Linked DNA regions of Homo sapiens: region 1 is linked to region 2. Evidence: promoter capture Hi-C in human tissues and cell types (Jung and others, 2019). All regions are on one chromosome and are shown on one strand. The core of a region is centred on a gene start or on the middle of the fragment in contact, and the rest is flanking DNA. Distances in the headings are between cores, read along the strand shown. Region 1 overlaps SKAP2 (src kinase associated phosphoprotein 2). Region 2 holds the start of HOXA4 (homeobox A4).

Region 1 (2,700 bases), core at 35-2,534, 330 kb after region 2:
TGTCCTTTCCTTCAAGGCAGCGAGGTCCCCTAATCCCCGGTGGGTCCAGAAGTACCATCCAGGAATTAGGGACTAGAGTCAAGTCCAACACTTCTGATTCATGGATGAAGATGCCCTATTTTCTTTATCTCCTCCAGATTTCTCCTCTACTTTTCTCCCACCAAATCTTAACCTATTATGACCATTTGCCCAAATGTTTTGTGCTCTGCTCATGGTAAAGGAGTAAGGGATATACAGTTGACTCATGAACAATGTGAGGGTTTAGGGATGTCAACCCCCTGTGCTTTTGAAAATCCACATATAACTTTTGACTCCCCCAAAACTAACTACTAATAGCCTGTTGTTGACCATAAGTCTTACCAACAACATAAACAGTTGATTAACACATATTTTGTATATGTATTATATACTGCATTCTTATAATAGAATAAGCTAGAGAAATGTTATTAAGAAAATTAATGAGAAAATACATTTACAGTACTGTATTTATTGGTGCCACAAGTTGATATCATCTATTTATGCAATCGATTATCTGTCCGAAATGGCAGGCAGCCACAGCTGCAGAACTCAATCTATGGTACATATCAAGCAACCCAACTTTTCCTTGTAATGTCATGAATTTTCTCTGCTTTTCAGAGGTACTGTTAGCATCACCAGTGGCACTTTGTATGGGTCCCATGGTGTTATTCAAGGTTTTCAGTATTGCACTAAACATGGTAAAAAATATGTGAGACCCACAAGAGATCACTTTTTACTGCGATATGCAATTTACTGGAGAGGTGAACTACTCACATGGAGATGATTAGTGTCAATTAGTGTCACATAGCGTTTTAAGCAGATTTTCGTAACACTCAAGCTCACCCCAACAGCAACAGGAGATGGCTATGATGTTATTACCAAAGGACAGGATATACTACAGTTAATTTTATGCAGTTATGATTTAATACTACATTATCATTTGTTTACATTTGTGTTGACTTTTCGTAGCATCATGTATGATCTGTGGTGCGTAAGTTTGGATAAATACTAACTTTTTATAATAGATATTTGTATGTTTTATGGTGGTAAATGATAAAATAGACTAGTATTTACATATATTTTATGCATTAATGACATACCTTTTTCTTGTTTCCATATTTCTAGGCCATGCAGGTCATCTCTGAGTTTTTTCAAATTGTCACAGATCTCTAAAAAATTTTCCAATATATTTGTTGAAAAAATCCATGGATAAGTGGACTCGTGCAGTTCAAACCTGTGTTGTTCAGGGGTCCACTGTAATTGATGCACTGCTATTTGCACTTATCAAGGAGCCATTCCTAAATAACCCCTAACAACCACTAATGATGTATTAAGTATGAATCACCAGGTAGTGGGAGAGATTTTATTTTTTCAAGAGTTAAGTGACTTACTAAGTTTCTCAAACAGTACTCTTCATAGGTGCCTGCTTCCCTTATCATTTTATAAGACTGTATCTGGATCATGAGGTTGTTGCCCAGTAAATCTAAATATAACATAGGGGCTTAAATGATGCTATTGTTTATATTATACCTCATATTTTTCCAAAATGGATTTGAGGTGGCTAAAATTTTGTTCCACTTACAGTGCTGAGAATCGTATCTTGCTAATAAATGTTGATTACATTTAATTAACTGCTTCTAAAGTTATCAAAATGAGGTTCTTACTAATAAGAAGAAAAATTCAAAAATCCACTTAGAAGTTTATTCATCCTATGATCTACGATAAGATTAAAATAAGTAGTATTTAGATAATTTGATCTTATTCAAAAGCTTGGAGCTTTCTGGTAGGAAAAAGTGATAACACTTAGTATGTTCATCCAGATGAATAAATTATTTACTGGAAAGGACCAACATCTGGATCTTTCACATTCTTCCTCTTTGGTTGTATATAACTACTGAAGTTTACCTATTGCAAGTGATAAGGAACTTGGCTAGAATTTCAAAGAATGAGGAATTTGATGGCATAAACTGAAGCAAATACTGTGTAGCAAGAGTAACAGTGAATTTCTGTGACTCTTCTCTTTTGAACTTTTAGGACATTTTCTGTTTATTAGTAAAATCTCTTTAATTGGTTCTCAAACATGTGTCCACTTATGATCAACATTGTTTTGTCTGTGTTGTGCCAAACCTCTATTAACCTCAATAGGGAAGGCACCAGGTTCAAGAGGCTGAAGAAGAGACCCAGAGCCAGCAAACGAGACATGGGGTTTTATTAGGAACTTATATACGTACAGGGGAGAGAATCCAGTGGTGGCTGGCTGGACAAGATATCCACCTTCCTTGCAGTCCAGTGGTGGTGGGCTGGACAAGATATCCACCTTCCTACAGTCCAGTGCTGCGGGCTGTACAAGATATCCAACTTCCTGTAGTCCAGTGGTGGTGGGCTGGACAAGATATCTGCCTTCTTACAGTCCAGTGGCAGGGGGTTGGACAAGATATCCACCTTTTTACAATCTAATGGTGGTGGGCTAGACAAGATATCCACCTTCCTACAGTCCAGTGGCAGCAGGCTGGACAAGATAATTGCATGGCCCAGTGATGGTGGGCTGGGCAGGAAAACTGCAACCACTTGCAAACAGCATGCAGTTTATATAGCATTTTTATTTAACAACCTCCCCTGAATGACCTCCACCTGGCAACTTTTATCCAACCCAAAACTCAGGGCCTCAATCCATGTTCCATG
Region 2 (2,700 bases), core at 25-2,524:
ATTAATAAGTAATTTATTTGTTAATAATGGCGTAATTAGTGTACCCATCAAATTTCAATTACCAAATAGCAGGCAACAGTCTCCTCTCCCTCCTTTCCGGAGCTTCTGATATCGTTAATACGCTAATTTTCAGCAATTCAGAAATTATAGACTGTCCTGCAAATATAACTCTAGCCTCAGATACTGCCTGAGAAAGCAGGATCTAAAAGAGAAAACATGAAATTCTTAGCTGGAAAAGACCCATCAGCGATCAGACCCGGCAAGGTGTTTATTCTACCCTTAGCTTGTTTTTGTTTGGGGATAGTTCTGAAATAGGAAGTTATTGTTTTCAAAGCTCGGTTCTGTGGAGGTGTTGCTTCTATCCATTCCCATCCTTGGGCCACCTTCTCTCTCACAATCGCACCTAGTAAATGCGGGCATATTTAGCTCTCACATCGACAACCCCCGTCAAATTAGATGCTATTACGAAGGTTCCAATTTTTCTTAGGAAAACACGAAACAGATTGTCTCTGAAAGAAGGAAAAAATGAAAAGTGTCCATCCAGTTATAATGGAATGGCCTCGATTTACATCCTTGGGTCGATTTCTCTTAGCTGCCCGCCCACCCTTTGCAGCTTCTGCCAAGCTTCTCAAAGCAAGGGCTCTCAGGCTGACACGCAAGGAGCAGGGTGTGGGGAAGGGGGATCTGCGGTTGAGAAAATGTGTCTGGTGGCCTCTCAGTGGCGTACATAAAAACCAGGATGCCCCTCGGTCCCAACGCCCTTCCTTTCGCCTGTTAGCCTAGAACCCCTGAAGGACACGAAGCCTGACTGGGTTGCGCCCGAGGTCAGCGCTGAGTCGCGGCCGCCAGACAGCCCGAGGCCTAGGCCAGCAGTAGGGCAGGCAGAGGGCTCCCGAGAGGACCTACAGCCTGACAGGGCCTGAATTCCCAGCGGGAACCAAAGCTGGGGGGCTGGGGTCCAAAGCTCCTGCTCCCTCCCCCAGCCCAGGGGCCGGACAGCAGCATCCATCACGCACCCGCGCGTTTCCTGATCCGGGTCCGCGCGCGCGGTGCGCCCATTGGTGGGGGCGCTGCACGTGGGGCACGGGGCGGGGCGCGCGCTGGGCTGGGGAGGAGCGGCTCGAACTTTGGTGGCGGCGTCTGCGGGAGGGGGAGGAGTGGGCACTTGACAGCGGGGGGAGGGGAAGGGCGCAGAGGAAAGGGGGATGGGAAGCGAGGCAGGAGGGGGAGGGGCCTCGGCAAGCCCAGAAAAAACGACAACGCGAGAAAAATTAGTATTTTTGCACTTCACAAATTAATGACCATGAGCTCGTTTTTGATAAACTCCAACTACATCGAGCCCAAGTTCCCTCCCTTCGAGGAGTACGCGCAGCACAGCGGCTCGGGCGGCGCAGACGGCGGCCCGGGCGGGGGCCCCGGCTACCAGCAGCCCCCAGCGCCCCCGACCCAGCACCTGCCGCTGCAGCAGCCCCAGCTCCCTCACGCGGGCGGCGGCCGAGAGCCCACTGCCTCCTACTACGCGCCGCGGACCGCCCGCGAGCCCGCCTACCCTGCTGCCGCGCTGTACCCCGCGCATGGGGCCGCGGACACCGCCTACCCCTATGGCTACCGCGGCGGCGCCAGCCCCGGGCGGCCGCCCCAGCCCGAGCAGCCCCCGGCGCAAGCCAAGGGCCCAGCGCACGGCCTGCATGCGAGCCACGTCCTGCAGCCCCAGCTGCCGCCGCCCCTGCAGCCTCGCGCCGTGCCCCCAGCGGCCCCGCGGCGCTGCGAGGCGGCCCCCGCCACCCCAGGCGTCCCGGCAGGGGGCAGCGCCCCCGCGTGCCCGCTGCTCTTGGCCGACAAGAGCCCGCTGGGCCTGAAGGGCAAGGAGCCCGTGGTGTACCCCTGGATGAAGAAGATCCATGTCAGCGCCGGTACGTGGCGCCGCTTGGGAGGCGCGGGAGGTGGGCCGGGGCTGGGCCTGGGTTCGAGGGTCGGGGTCAGGAGGGAGAGGCTCAGGGGAAGGGGGCCTCGGGAGGGGAGCCCCCATCTGACCCGGGCTGCGGTGAGATGTGGGTATGTGCGCGCCAGCCAGCCGCCTGATCCCAACATGAGAACCCTTTTGTACCCAGGGTCCCTTTATCAGGAGATTTACGAGACGCCAAACTGTTAGGGCAGTAATTATAGCCCCCATAAATTTAATTGCCCTGGCAGAGGCTTCAGGCCATGTGTCTTTGAAGCTTTTCTTCAGCCCCAATGCCCAGCACCATTCTTTATGGCTCTCGGGTGTTTCCCGTTGTCAATAGCCTGTGAAACATTTTCTTTGCCGTTTTATGTATCTTGCGTGAACTTGGTGTCAGGTTATTATATAATGATGATGTCCAATTGCTCTTCCCCACCCCACCTTCTCTCTCCTCCTCCTTTCCCTCTCTTCCGCTCCCTCCTCCTTGGCCTTCTATTTCGGGGTTCTGGGTTTTCAGTTAACCCCAGTTATAACGGAGGGGAGCCTAAGCGCTCTCGAACCGCCTACACCCGGCAGCAGGTCTTGGAGCTGGAGAAGGAGTTCCACTTCAATCGATACCTGACCCGGCGGCGCCGCATCGAGATCGCCCACACGCTCTGTTTGTCTGAGCGCCAGGTCAAGATCTGGTTTCAGAACCGGAGGATGAAGTGGAAGAAAGACCACAAACTGCCCAACACCAAGATGCGATCCTCCAATTC

The links. The method cuts DNA at HindIII sites, captures the fragments that hold promoters and counts their contacts. A contact is called where the count stands out against the background at its distance.
Region 1: a fragment that was not itself captured here is called in contact with the fragment with the promoter of HOXA4 in region 2 in 1 of the 25 tissues and cell types used here (dorsolateral prefrontal cortex).

What each region holds. Positions count from the first base shown.
Region 1 is chr7:26,794,454-26,797,153 of GRCh38, reverse strand. All of the region lies in intron 4 of SKAP2 (src kinase associated phosphoprotein 2), which reads left to right. Among named protein-coding and RNA genes, the nearest start is that of SKAP2, 69 kb to the left of the region's middle. The HindIII fragment of the contact is 6,768 bases long and covers 1-2,700 here.
Region 2 is chr7:27,129,331-27,132,030 of GRCh38, reverse strand. HOXA4 (homeobox A4) reads left to right here and starts at 1,274. Exons shown (of 2, transcript NM_002141.5): 1 at 1,274-1,913; 2 at 2,460-2,700. The coding sequence starts at 1,298. The region is part of intron 2 of HOXA3 (homeobox A3); the gene reads left to right. RefSeq lists a silencer at 1,047-1,116. The HindIII fragment of the contact is 3,192 bases long and covers 1-2,700 here.